Regions from separate parts of the Homo sapiens genome. Here region 2 is linked to region 1. The links are contacts of gene promoters, found by promoter capture Hi-C in blood cells and fetal thymus (Javierre and others, 2016). All regions are on one chromosome and are shown on one strand. The core of a region is centred on a gene start or on the middle of the fragment in contact, and the rest is flanking DNA. Distances in the headings are between cores, read along the strand shown.

Region 1 (7,548 bases), core at 2,311-4,810:
AGGGTCTTACTCTGTCACCCAGGCTGGAGTGCAGTGAAGCAATCATAATTCACCAAAGCCCAAACTCCTAGGCTCAAGCAATTCCTCCCACACCTCAGCCTCCCAGTAGCTGGGATTACCAGTGGGTGCCACCACACCCAGCTAATTATGGTTTTTTAGAAACAGGGTCTCCCTTTGTTGCCCAGGCTGTTCTCAAAGTCCAGAGCTCAATCAATCCTCCTACTTCAGCCTCCCAAGTAGCTGGGATCACAGGCATGAGCCACCATGGGCACCTGGCTCTTTATTTATTTAAAACCGCAAATTGATAGTTTACCTGAAGATGTGATCCAATTCCCAAGGTATTCATATAATTTAAGTTGTGTGGAAGGACCTAGCTAAATTGTAAATTAACTTAGAACCATAAATATGAATCTAGTCAGAAGTATAAACTCAAAACTAAACAAACTCTGTCCTGCTGTCATAAGAGTAAATACTTGGAATAAGATTTCCAGTGAAAGTATCATATAGGGATTGAAAAAGTATCACAAATCAAATAGGTTAGATGGTAATGAATATGGTATACTCTAGAAAAATGTGTAATATAATGCAAAACATGTCTGTGGTCAAAGACTCTTAATTCTGAAGATATACACAATGGATTTTAATAACATTTCATGAAATATAAGAGTAGAAACAAAGCAGTAATAATCTCATACATAGAAAATCCTAAAGATACTTCTGGAATCTTCACAGAGAAAATACAAAAAGAAAAGAAAATCCTGAAGAATCTACTAAAAAACAATTAGAACTATTAAGTTCAGCAAGGTTTCAGGACACAAAATCAAGACACAAAAGTCAATTATTTTCCTATACAGTAGCAATGACCAAATGAGAATGAAATTAAGGAAACAATTCCATTCACAGTAACCTCAAAAAGAATACTTAGGAAAAAATTTAACATAAATAGTGTAAAATTCATGCTCTGAAAACTACAAAATACTGTTGAAAGACCAAAATAAGAGAGACAACCCATATTCTTGGGTCAGACTTAATATTCAACCGTAATTAGTTTTTTAAAAATGTTCTCTATTGTTACTCATCCTCTGACTAACTCAAGGCTTACAGAAATTATAGCCAGGCTAAATTTGGATAAATTATGTCAAAATACTTTTAGCCCCATGCTTTCTACAAAAAAAAATTAAAGTTATTCAATCACATACCTTTATATTCTCTTTGATTTCTTCTTGTTTCTGCTTCATACTGGGATTCATTATGTAGATGGTGAAGCACAGAAGACTAGTAATTAAAAAACAATATGGTTTGCACCCCCGAAGGTGGAGTCTAGGTTTAAAATACTTACAATCATAAAAATTATACTATTGTACAGTAGAACTATTATTTTTTCTCTCTTAATCCAAACTCAGCCCTGTCAATGACTAAGGTGACTAAAGTTAATGACTCTTGATATCTATATTTTACATATATACACACATAATAATTATAGCTGAAAAAATGAAATTAATGTATTTTAAACCAATTTCTAAAACTGGTTTAAAATTTCTAAACATATTGTCCTGGATTAAATAGTCACCAGAAAAAGCAAAATAAACAGATACTAGGGTATGCCCAGGTCCATCCTAAAGAGCAGCATCTTAACTTTCCTGATTCAAAGACAGATTTAAGGTATAATAAACTGGGCTCTGACAATAACTTAACACAGACTTAATATCTGGTCAAATGAGATCATGCATTTACATTTGTAGGAAATGTTTAACCAGTAACATGAACTGAAGGACTAACAAGCAAGAAAGAGGGAAAAGGTAGAAAGGGATCTATGTAATGCGGTTGACTAGACCACTGGGCCAAACTCAGCATCTGAACTGCTGCTCCACTGCCCACTGCCCACTGCCCACTACCCATTGGCCCCTGCCGTGTCTGCGCCTGTGCCTCGTCGATAGATGTCCCTAATTTTTGTGGCCATGCCTTTACTCAGTGCAGTGGCTTCTAACATTAATACATTTTACCTTGTGTCCTGGCGCGTGCACACACATGTGCAAACAAAAAAGCTTAGGAAAGGCCGGGCGTGGTGGCTCACATCTGTAATCCCAGCACTTTGGGAGGTCGAGGCAGGCGGATCACCTGCATGATCACCAAAGTGCTGGAAGGTCGAGGCAAGCGGATCACCTGAGGTCAGAAGTTCGAAACCAGCCTGGCCAATATGGTGAAACTCCATCTCTACCAAAAATACAAAAATTAGCCGGACGTGGTGGTGCTCGTCTGTAGTCCCAGCTACTCGGGAGGCTGAGGCAGGAGTATCGCTTGAACCCGACAGGTGGAGGTGGCAGTGAGCCGAGATCCTGCCACTGCACTCCAGCCTGGGCAACAGAGCGAGACTCCGTCTCAAAAAAAAAAAAAGCTTAGAAAACAAAACAATCTAATTTGTGCGGGCATCCTGCTATTTTCTACTCTATTTCATGTTAAGAAAATGGTGTTCGGGCCCCAGTAAACAGACCCTACGCAATGTTCTTCAAACTGCGGGTCGCGGGCCGTGATCTCGAAATTAGTGAGTCATGAGCAACACTGCTTAGAAAAATGCAACTGAACAGAATGGAATTGAAGAGACGAGAAACATTGCTTCCATCACGTCTCATTTGGTTAGATAGCTGTGTCCTAGGTTGCGACGTAAAACGTACCTTAGTGTGAAAAAAGCTGAAAGCCACTTAGCATTCTAATCCTTCACAAGTTTCCCACGCCTGTCAGCGACCTTGCAACCCTTACTTGTTATTCTCCAGTTCCTTTAATAGCTAGATTAAAAACCCTGGCACAGGACAGGGTCCATGCGAAACCCGTATCAACAACGCCAGTATCCGTTTAATGGGAGACGCAGAATTCAGCCACCTCTTTCCATGAGCCAAATTTGCAGATCCCTCAGATCAGGACCAGCCACTTAACTGCCAAGAGGATGGATGCTTCGCCTCATCCCCACAGCTGGCAAGCCCAGGCTGAGTCCCTTACCCGCGTTGCAGTCCCCAAGCCCGGACCCAGCCAACTTGTCCCGGAGGCCCAGCGCCAGGCTAGGGGGCGGGCAGTGTGGCCCCGCGCGTCCGAGCCTACCAACCGCGGCGCGCGCCTCGGGAACTGCGCCAGCCAGCCAATAGGAAGCGCGGAAGTGAGAGCGCGCCAAAACCGACCCAGCCAATGGGGCAGTCCCTCGACTCACCTCCCAACCCCGCCCCGGCTCCCGCGACCGTTCAACAACCCCTTCGCCCTTACCCAGGCCGCGGCCCTGCAGCTGTCAAAGTAGGACGCGGCTTCAGAGGTTGGCCGGAGGGAAAGCGAGTCGTCTAGAGGCTGTGCGCCTTGCGCCCCTGCGTACCCACTTCCTGCCGCCTCTTGCCCACTTACTGGGTGGAGACGCTCAATCCTCGTAGCGAACGCACGTAGCTATGGCTGCAGCACCTCGCAAAAGGCCACAGCTCACCTACGCTGATCCCCACGGTCGCTGGAGTGCCCGGCGCGCTCTGCAGTAAAGCCCTGCTAACTCCGCTCGCCCGCTCCGAACAACCACGTGACCAACTGACGCAGACGAGGGGCGGGGCCTCTGGATCCCGCGAATCGCCTCTTCCCTCGGCCCCGCCCCTTCCTGCGCCTGCGCGGTCAACGGTAGCGAGTACTTGAGGACCGTGGGGGTTTTCTGCGGGCTGGGAGGCCTGTGCCCTTTGACCCTCCCCTCCGACCCTGCTCTTGGAACTTCCTTAAAATGCAAAGTTTTAGCCCTTTACGAAAGGGAGAAAGATTTGCCTCCATTAGTCGTTAGCACCAGAAGAACAAAATATTGTATGTGCATATATATTAATATGTAGTACACGACATATATTTGTGTAAAGCCCTGGCTCCACGGACTCGTAGTTGTATTAGGGGCTTTTATATTTTGGCTTTTTGTGTTTTGACTATGGTGTGGTGCGGTAGGAATTGTTCAGGAGACAACCGATTATCAGTTAATCCTGCAGCTATTCATTGAGCGCCTTATACGTGCCAATTACTACTGTTCTAGGCACTGAAATTACAACTGCTGTTGCAATTTGAAGGAGCAGAAACACCTTGGTAATAATTACGTCTAGCCTTTTCCTTCTTTTTTTTTTTTTTAATTGAAACGGAGTCTCGCTCTGTCACCCAGGCTGGAGTGCAGTGGCGCGATCTCGGCTCACTGCAAGCTCCGCCTCCCGGGTTCAAGCGATTCTCCTGCCTCAGCCTCCCGAGTAGCTGGGACTACAGACAAAGGGAGACCCTGTCTCAAAAAAAAATTAATTTTAAAATATTTTAAAAATAAAAAGCAGAAGGAAGGCGTTATCGAGTACAAATAAGGGACATATTACCAAATGCAATGTATGGATCTCGTCTGAACTAAACACTGTATTTAAAAAAATACCCAAGGGAAATTTGAACACTGACTGAATATTTTGGGATGGTAAGATATGAGTTGTTTAAGGTTACCTGATGAGCAATGGGTTAAAAAAAGAGATTAGTTGTAATGACAATATTGTGGGTTTTATTGTAATAGCTTCTACCTATAAATGGTAATTACAGATGAAATTTTATACCATATATTTTATTTGAAATAATTATTGAGAGAAGCAAGGGAAAAGGTATAAATCAAGCTTTCTCAGTATGGGCTCTATTGACATTTTAGACTGGGCAAATTGTTCGTGGTGGGGGCTGTCCTGGGCATTGTATGCTGTTTAGCAGTATCCCTGGCCTCTACCCTCTAGCTACCAGGAGTACATCCCAATTGTGAAGACCAAAAATGTCTGCAGACCTTGTCAGATAACCTTCCGCAGGGCAAAATCATCCCCAGTTGAGAACCACTGGTGCGAATAAAACAGTATTGGCCTTGTGTTGATAACTGCTGAGGCTAGTATGGATGAGTACATGAAGATTTTTTATTCACTCCCTCTACTTTTATATCTGTTTGGGATTTTCAATAATAATTTTTTTTTTTGAGACGGAGTCTTGCACTGTCACCAGGGCTGGAGTGCAATGGTGCAACCTCGGCTTACTGCAACCTCTGCCCCCCCCGGGTTCAAGCGATTCTCCTGCCTCAGCCTCCCAAGTAGCTGGGATTACAGGTGCCCGCCACCACACCCAGCTAATTTTTTGTAGTTTTAGTAGAGACAGGGTTTCACTATGTTGGCCAGGCTGGTCTTGAACTCCTGATCGTGTGATCTGCCCACCTTGGCCTCCCAAAGTGCTGGGATTACAGGCGTGAACCACTGCACCTGGCCAATAATAAAATTTTTAAAATATTAATTTAAAAAGGATTAAATGATGGGATAAGGAGGTAGAAATACTGGAAAATGTTTAGCCATAAAAATTTCAGCAACCACTAGGCACCATGGCTCATGCCTGTAATCCCAGCACTTTGGGAGGCTGAGGCTGGCGGATCACCCTGAGGTCAGGAGTTCAAGACCAACCTGGCCAACATGGTGAAACCCTGTCTCTACTAAAAATACAAAAATTATCCAGGCATGGTGGCATGCGTCTGTAATCCCAGCTACTCAGGAGGCAGAGGCAGGAGAATAGCTTGAACCCAGGTGGTGGAGGTTGCAGTAAGCCAAGATCACACTACCACAATCTAGCCCAGGTGACAGAGTGAGACTCTATCTCAAAAACAAAACAAAACAAAACAAAACAAAACTTTAGCAACCACAAATATTTACACCAATTTTTTTATTTTTATTTTTATTCAGATGGATAAATAATAATTACATTGCACCAATTTATTTTTTGACAAACCATTTCTTTGATGAGTATAAGCACAGCTAAGAGAAGTGAAATGATGAAACACATTACTAATGAAGGTTTTGGGACTTGAGACTCAGATGATGTTAAGAATAATATACTCAGGATTGGCCGGGTGCAGTGGCTCACCCTGTAATCCCAGCACTTTGGGAGGCCGAGGCGGGTGGATCACGAGGTCAGGAGATCGAGACCATCCTGGCTAACATGGTGAAACCCCATCTCTACTAAAAACACAAAAAAAAGTTAGCCGGGCATGGTGGCAGGTGCCTGTAGTCCCAGCTACTCAGGAAGCTGAGGCAGGAGAACGGCGTGAACCCAGGAGGCAGAGCTTGCAGTGAGCGGAGATCGCGCCACTGCACTCCAGCCTGGGCGACAGAGTGAGACTACGTCTCAAACAAAAAGAAAAAAAAAAAGAATAATATACTCAGGATCTTCAGGGGATTATTTTAGTGCAGAATTATTTAAAGGATTGAAGATGGTCTAGAAGGTGGCCCCTGGGCATTAAATATGTTTTGTTTCACATACACAATTGTGGCCTACACATTGTCTTAAAATGGAAATTGTCTGTATTTTAAAAATCGGATGATTTCCATAAGCAAAGACAAATGATAAAGTAAGAGAAAATATAGGGAATTTCTTTTACACATAAAAGACTACATTCCCTAATTTTTAAAGAGCTATAAAACATTGAGAGGGAGAAGCCAACAGCCCAATAGATAAATCGGCAAAAGACAGGAATGGACGGTTCAGAGAAAACGATAGAGGAATGGTCCTTAAACATACAAAACCATGCTCAACTTTACTGAGAATAAGAGACATGCAAATTAAAACTCTGAAAAACTATTTCAACTATCAGACTAGCAGCTATAGAAAAGCTTGACAACATACTTACAGTAGATAGAATTCTAAAATGCCACCCATTATCTCTGACCTCTGATTATGCCTATGATTAGGTTATTCAATAAGGCAAAGGTGGTGGGATTTTATAATTGTAATTAAGGCCCCAAATCGGTATACTTTAAATTATCGAAAGTGAGATTATCCTGTTGGCCTTGACGTAATCATTAGGATGTCCTTCAACAGAGGGCTTAGACTTTTTTTGATGTATCTCTTACTGGCCTTGAAGAAGCAAGCGGCCATGAGTATTATGTCTCCAAAGAAATGAATTCTCCCAACAATTGGAATGAGTTTAGAAGCAGATCCTTCTCCAATGAAGCCTCTAGATGACAATGCACTGGCCAGCACTTTGTTTACAGCTCTGTAAGACCCTGAGCTCAGGGTCCAACTGAACTTTGTTTAGATTCCTGTGGCGCAGAAAGTATGAGATAATACATGTTTTGTTTTAAGCCACTAAGATTGTGGAAATTTCTACAGAGCAACAGAAAACTAATAAAATACTCTACTGATGAGGCTGGGAGAAAACAAGCACTCATATACATGGCTACTGGGAGTGTCAAATGTTAAAAGCCCTGTAGAAGGGAATTTGTCTGTATCTGACAAGGCGTTTTTTTTGTTGTTTTTTTTTGTTTTTTTTTTTTTTGAGACAGAGTTTCACTCTTGTTGCCCAGGCTGGAGTGCAATGGCATGATCTCGGCTCACTGCAACCTCTGCCTCCCAGGTTCAAGAGATTCTCCTGCCTCAGCCTCCCGAGTAGCTGGAATTACAGGTGCCTGCCACCACACCCAGCTAACTTTTTGTATTTTTAGTAGAGATGGGTTTTCACCATGTTGGCCAGGCTGGTCTCGAACTCCTGACCTCAAGTGATTCGCC
Region 2 (7,548 bases), core at 2,248-4,747, 160 kb before region 1:
ACTTTCTGTAGCTCCCACACCAAGAAATTTGTCTTGAGGTTAAAAAAAGGGGAGGAGGGGCAGACTGTACAGTGATCCCTGAAAATGCTTTTAAAGTCAATGGTAGGGCCACAGGAAAGGATTCCCATCTCAGTTAATGTTGCCAAACCCTGAGAGGTAAATTTTATTATCAGTAGCAGCTACAGGATTTCTTTATTGGAGAGGCTTTGTGATTACATTCTGGTTGAGACAGAGGGTAAGGCCAGGGACTAGGGACTGGGTCTTGAAGTTGTGTTTGCATTGATAGCACAATGTATTAATATAGATTGTATTTTAATTTGGGACAATTAGTGGGAAAGGGCTGAACTGTCCCTTAACTCAGTAATTGATTATTATTATTCCATTTTACTGATTCAAAGTGAAATTATTAACTCTAGTCAAAGAGCTAGATAGTAACGAAGCCAAGATTGTAACTCAGCCCTGTCAAATCCCAGAACCAGTGCCTTTATATGCTTTTTTTTTTTTCTGTTTCTAGTTGCAAGCTAACCACTCCCAGCAGTCATACCTTTAACCCATAGTTATGACCTTGCCAACCATACCCAATGTGAGTCTTGCCATAGAACTCTCGTTTGCTGGGTTCTTCTCCTTCTTTCGTAAGTGGAAGGAATGGATTCCCTCAGCGGGCAATTACCGTCATTGTCTTTAGTCCCATTGAAGGAAACAGTCCTGGACTTTGGTCAGGCTTCCCCAGCACCTTCAGTAAGTGACTCTAAGTGTGGCTCCTGCAGCCTAATGATGCGCCTGAAACTGGGGGAGGCAGGCAGGAAGACTTCTAAAGGCTCTGGGAGGGTTTTCCTCATGAGACAACCCTCATGAGATTGTACCCATGAGATTGGTACCTCCTCTTTGCAACATGAAAACAAGAATACTATTAAAAATCATGTTCCAGCCAGGCGCAGTGGCTCACGCCTGTAATCCCAGCCCTTTGGGAGGCCAAGGCGGGCAGATCACTTTAGGTCAGGAGTTCAAAATCAGCCTGACCAACATGGTGAAACCTCGTCTCTACTAAAAATACACAAACAATTAGCTGGGCATGGTGGCGCACACCTGTAGTCCCAGCTAGTCTACTGGGGAAGCTGAGGCAGGAGAATCACTTGAACCCGGGAGGTGGAGGTTGCAGTGAGCCAAGGTCGAGCCACTGCACGCCAGCCTGAGCGACAGAGACAGACTCTGTTTCAAAAAAAAAAAATCGTATTCCTTTTGTCCCAGCTCTTTAGACATGGCATTTTACAGTTAGACAAATTAGACAAATTTTTAGGTGCATCTTTACTGGCAAAGTTACCCAAAGATAAGATTATTTCTGACTCTGTGGTTTTTTTCACCTTTTTCTTTTCTGATTCCTACCACTCCTCACAGTTTCAATTCCTCTCTCCTACTTTGTTCTCCTTTCTGTTTCGAACATTTTGCTCCTAATTAGTTCAGGTTTTTCTCCCTGTTCAGAAGTTTGTATATCTGAAAATTAAGTATTTTAAAACACTTTCTGAAAGGAGTGGGAAATTCTCCAGAAGCACAGAGAGAAGATTGTGAGGCTCTTCTGTTGGAATAAAAGCCCACGTTGGATGTTGAAATTTTTCCACTAGTATGGTTTCCTCCTGTACACGCTTCACAGGTGGTATTTTTTTTCAAAACAGCAAACTATGCAGAAATATTTTAAATTAATAAATTATTAATTATTATAGCCTCAATTCTCATAACTCAAAATAATAATACTGTGTTGATATTCATATGTTCAACACAACACATGCCTTCTCACTTATATATTTACTTAAATATTTCACACCATACCTGAAATATAGTAGGTATTCATTACTATTCTCCAAATGAATGAAGTGAGTAAAGTTCCACAAAGCAAGGACCAGACCTTTCATATCATTGTAATTCACAGACCTAGTATGGCATAAAGTGGGCACCAACTCTTTGGAGTATAAAAGCTTTGCTATGTTCCTGTGCTTATGACCTTGATGAAATTCTGCTGTTAAATTTAGTACAGGTTGTCACAAATCACCATTTGATCAAAGTAGTTGCCTTATACTGGTTCATCTATACTTTTGTTCTCTTCCCCAAATCCAATTATTGGAGCTGTTTGCCTCAATCACTGAAAAGCAAGATTCTTTCATTGTTGTTTCAGACTTACTCCTCATTTCTTAGTGAAAACTACTCTCTGTGACCTACATCTCCCTTAACTAAGCACTGAATTTCCCTATCTTTAGTCTTTCTTTTCTAATATGGATTCGAAGGGGATCAGAATGTGTCCCCCAAAATATGCTAATTTAGCATAAGTACTATTTTGAGCTATTTTTGAGAAAGAATCTTCTGCCCTTCTCCTTTCTGCTTTAAGTGCCATAAATTTCCACTTGTAAAGGTGTTTTATTTCCCATCTTGGGTGACTAAGCCTCATGGTCCTCTTCCTGATATGAGAGATGAGTCTGCATAACAATCCTTAGCTATCATACATTCCTAGTTACCTTCCCACAATTTGCCACTCTTAGGAGCCCACTCCCCTACTCTGCCTCCTTTGTCTAGTCACTTCTTCACAGTTTATTGCACTTTGTTAAAATTTTATATAAGCTCAGCATTCTTTTAGACTTTACATAGATAAGAGATAGTGTAGCCTGGTGTTTAAGAGTTTGGACTCTGGGATCAAATCTCAGTACCTCTACCACTTACCAAATGTATGACCTTGGGTGGATCACTTCACCTCTTGGGCCTTAAACTAAAATAGAGATAATAAATATATCTATATCTTAGGGTTGATATAGGAATTAAGTGAATCAAAGCACTTAAAACTGTTGCTGGCACTCTGTGTTAGCGATTACCTACATTTTTTTATTTGCTCATTTTGGACACTCATATAAATATAATTATACCATTTATAATTTTCTGAGACCTTTCAAAGTCAATATTATGTTTTTGAAACTCATCCATATTGATGCATGCATATGTAGTTTATTAATTTTTCTTTTTAGTTAACACATCATGCATGTATGTCATATCTCTCTAAGGTAATTGTAAACTTTGGAGAGCAAGAACCATGTTTTCTATCCTCTGTGCTTTCAAGGAGTTCGTGGTAGCATTTGTGATTTGTTCTTTGAGATGATTAGCTGTGTTTCTGAGATATCTAAATTGGAGAAGAGGAGACTGAGGGAAACTTCCTAAGGGTTATTGAGGTTTTATATGGAGTGTGGTGACTTCTCATTCTCTATCCCCATTGAGCCTTCAATTTGGGAAATATCCTAAGCGTCCCTGTGAGAGACTTAGGCGTATAATTATAACTGGGTATTTACTGTGTACCATGTACTGTGTCAGCTTCTTTACATAAATTATCCTACTTAATCCTCAAAACAAGCCAAATGAGAAAGTATATTATTTTCTAGGACTTCTGTAATGAAGTACCACAAACTGGGTGGCTTAAGCAACAGAAACTTACTGCATCACAGCTGTGGAGGCTAGAAGTCCAAGGTCAAGGTGTTGGCAGGATTGGTTCTTCTGAGGGATGTGAGGGAGAATCTCTTGCAGGCCTCTCCCCTAGCTCATGGTGGTTTACTGGCAGTCTTTGGTGTTCCTTGGCTTGTGGATCTCTGCCTTCATCTTCACATACTATCCTCCCTATGTCTATGTCTTTGTCTAAATCTCTCCTTTTTATGAGGAAGTTAGTCATATTGGATTAAGGACCCATCCTCCTCCAATATGATATAAGTTCATCCTAACTAATTATATCTTCAATGGCCCTGTTTCTAAGTAAGGTCACATTCTGAGGTACTGGGGGTTAGGACTTCAACATATGAATTCAACAGGGGAGACACAATTCCACCCACTTAAAATGAAACAGGCCTACAGAGGTTATGCTAACTTTTTGAAGTGGAATAGCTAGGGCCCTCAGGTTCACGTGGTAACCAGGTAGTTCTGAGGTGGGAGGTGAGGGAGGTAGTGCAGGTCCCCAAGAGCCACGGGGATGCTGCAGTGAACTGGACTGTGTGCAGTCACTCCCATAAGTTGTCCAGACATGAGGTAACAGAGTGAGCTCTGGAATTAGTCAAATCTGCCACTCACTAGCTGCCTGATCTTAGGAATGTTTTTCAAGCCCTCAGAGCCCCCATTGCTTCATCTGTAAAATGGGATAATAGCACCCACCTCATGAAGTTGTGGAGATTAAAGGACATAGGACAGTAGTTGAGAAATGTAGTGATTATCAAAATGGACACCCATCCTCTTATCCCAACCACACAAAAGAGAGCTTTAGTCCACATCCAAATTTCCTACACCTAGGCCCATTTTAATTAATTTAATTTATGTAACTAAGTGCAACCCTTGTCCAGAAACATCATTCAAGTGGGGATCATGGTAGGGGGTGGTAAAAGGGTCAGAAAGGGGAGATGCAAAGGAGAGCTAGAGAAAAGGATAACTCCAGTTCTCTGCCTGTCAGTGTGTCTCAAGGTGGGCATTATTGGTATTTGGAGCTGGACAGTTCTTCCTGTTGAGCTACTGTTCCATGCATTATGGTAAGGTTGATATCCCTGGGCCCCTGAGTGCTAAGACATTAAATACCAGTAATAACCCCCAGTCATTGTGCCACCCAAAACACCCCAGACATTTCCAAGCTCTCCTCTAAGGATGGTTCCAGCCCTGATTGACAACAATTGGTGATCCCAGCAGGACCCAAGCTGTACACTGTCTTTGGGAACTGCTGCAGCCACCAATGCAGGGATGAACTGACTGTTGCTGCTCAGTTAACCCTCAGTGTCTGATTCCTGAATTCCTCTGGGGTGATCCCTTCTCACTGCTGGATTTCTCCAACCCTGTTGTCCACAGTCTCTTCTGGGAGAAAATGGTGCAATTTCAAGGTTGCAGTTACAGGAGGAGGGGACAGTTTCTCTAGGGTAACACTGGGAGTATCTTCAAAACCATGCAGTAAATAAAGTGCCAAAAATAAACACCTTGGGTCAACAGCTCCTCACTGTCATCTCCATTTGCATTTTCTAAGCTTCTGGCCACCTAAGAGATCTTACAACACAGTGGAGTGCTCTGGGAAACCCCGAAATGAAGTCTCAGTATTACTCAGAGAGATGTGTGTTTGTTTGTGCAGCCAGACAGAATTTGGCACACGTTGGGTAGCTCGATATGGTGATGCCAGCCAATGGTGCTCGCGTAGAAGCTCAGTGTTCACTCATCCCTTTGGGAGGACTGCTTTTTGAGTTACATTTTCTTCTTTCTCCTTTAGTGATACAGTCTGAAGTATCAAACTGAGTAAATATTGTGAAATGCAAGATGTTTGACCAAAACCAGTTATCTATTCATTGACTATAGATTTAATCGAGCCACATAAAGCCTAGATATGGTTCAGTTTGGTTTAAATGCTGTAAAGTTTCCAATCCTTAAATGCAAGAGGTTTGAAAAAAAGAAAAGAAAAGAAAAGAAAAATGCAACTATTACTGAGCAAAATAAAAGCTCTGTCCTCTAAATGCCTGCTTTGGTTTAACATAGTGGCTTGCTTTACTTTCAGATAAATTGTAATTGAAGCAAAACCAAGATATGAGAAATATGAACTCCCTCTTTCAACAAAACCCATTGTGTTCAAATTCATAAGCAAGAAAGTTAAGCACCCACCTTCCTCTTTAAGGAAATATGAAAGTTGTTGCTTTGAAATAGAATTCATTGCATTCAGACTTTGAGTGATATCTGTATTCATATCCAACCGGATCTGCAGCCCTCTTCAAAAAATTCTTTCTCCTCAGTGGTGAGAATTACCCCACCTGGGATTCACTCTTCACAAGGCTCAAGAAGCCTATTCATATGAATGAAACTGCTTTCTTCAGGGCAGATGCGGAAGCTGCCCTCCAGAGGGCTTGGGCAACCCAAGGAAAGGAAATCACCTCGGTCGGCAGTGTGACTGCTGAGACTGCCGGGGCTGCTGCCTGCTGCTTCTCGCGCCTGTCCTCTCCAAGATGCAGTTTTTTGATGCTGAGGAGCTCCTGGTCGATGAAGAGGATGATGTTTTTGGTGAAGGTAAATGCATCTTTCTGGCAGGAGGCTCTCCGGTCTGCTTTGCTTTGTTTTGACACCACTGGACACTTTTGCCCAGCTTGGGCAAGGACTTGAGTATTTTGAAATGATAAAAACAAAGCATCCTGAGTGAGGTAGTGGCTGCAAATATCAACTTAGGCACTGAAGGAATACACAAGGCAAGGGGTGGAACAAGGGGTTGAGTCATTCCCGCAAATACATTTTTTAAAGTCATGACTAAAATAAAGGTTTAGTTTAGGCTGGAAAATAGTACTAAATTTTTTGCCTTGTCTCTCTTCTGTGCTATCTCTTGTCTAACACCTTAAGGAAAGCCTGTCACAGTGGTTTGAGCACAGCAGGGCTGCTAGGGAAGAAGTTAAATAAATGGACCAGGAGTGGTTTTTCATGGTACCATGTTGCTTTGATTTGCACTTCTCTCTTTCTGTCTCTCTCTCTCTCTGTCTCTCTCTCTCTGTCTATCTTTCTCTCGGTCCTTCTCTTTTTTTTTTTTTTTTTTTTTGTTGTTGTTTTTTGAGACAGAGTCTTGCTTTGTTGCTCAGGCTGGAGTGCAGTGGTGCAATCTCAGCTCACTGCAACCTCCGTCTCCCGGGTTCAAGTCATTCTCCTGCCTCAGCCTCCCAAGTAGCTGGGACTACAGGCGCCCACCACCATGCCCAGCTAATTTTTGTATTTTTAGTAGAGATGGGATTTTGCCATGTTGGCCAGGCTGGTCTTGAAATCCTGACTTCAGGTGATCCACCCTCCTTGGCCCCCCAAAGTGCTGGGATTACAGGCGTGAGCTACCATGCCCGGCCTGGGTCCTTCTCTCTTACTCTTCCTCACACATACTTGGCACTCCAACCCTCCATTCCCTTTTCCAATTTTCTTTTTTCCCAAGTCGGGATACTGGAGCCCTGGTAGCTTCCAATCCCCATTGGCACTGCTCAGTTTTCTGTTCTCATCTTGCAGCTTTTCCATGACTTGACCTATCCACTGGAATTTAACTGTAAAGGTTGCGATTTTAAAGGGATGATCTAGTCATTGGATGGATGTTTTGTTCAAATGCTGCCTATGAGATTGGGCTATAGGCAAAAGCTTTTTTAGAATTTGGAGCCACCTAAATAAAGGAAATTTGGACTCAAGAATCTCGTGAATTTGATTATTTTCCGCAAGAAACTACGTCTAGCAATTTTTTAAAAAACTCTATTCAGTAATTTTTTAAAAGGAACAGTAGTAAGGTTTTTGTGTATGTGTAATTACCCAAGCAATACAAGTTCGCTGAAGAAAAATTAGAGTGTCGCAAAGAACCCCTTGTAATCTAGTCATGTAGAATGTAATCATGGTTAATATTTTGATGTTGTCTTTCTGCTATGTTGTTCTAGCTACAGAAATATTTAAAATCATTAGTTGGGTTTTTATCACAACTTAAATCAATTTGAAGAATATCTATTGAGCTTCGCTGCTGTTTACCAAGTTATCATTCTGTTGTGTTACTTTGATGGCAGGCGT

Evidence for each region. Contacts are between HindIII fragments. The CHiCAGO score rates a contact against its expected background, and 5 or more counts as called.
Region 2: a fragment that was not itself captured here is called in contact with the fragment with the promoter of GMNN in region 1 in 1 of 17 cell types (neutrophils); the score reaches 6.9 in neutrophils.

The regions. Positions count from the first base shown.
Region 1 is chr6:24,770,949-24,778,496 of GRCh38, reverse strand. It overlaps GMNN (geminin DNA replication inhibitor), which reads right to left and starts at 3,560. Exons shown (of 7, transcript NM_015895.5): 1 at 3,253-3,560; 2 at 1,200-1,275. The coding sequence starts at 1,250. RefSeq lists an enhancer at 2,566-2,645. The HindIII fragment of the contact is 2,242 bases long and covers 2,398-4,639 here.
Region 2 is chr6:24,934,332-24,941,879 of GRCh38, reverse strand. LOC105374981 (a long non-coding RNA gene) reads right to left here. Exons shown (of 3, transcript XR_007059514.1): 2 at 7,510-7,548. It overlaps RIPOR2 (RHO family interacting cell polarization regulator 2), which reads left to right and starts at 5,920. Exons shown (of 22, transcript NM_001286445.3): 1 at 5,920-6,042. The coding sequence starts at 5,982. RefSeq lists an enhancer at 5,038-5,207. The HindIII fragment of the contact is 3,050 bases long and covers 1,973-5,022 here.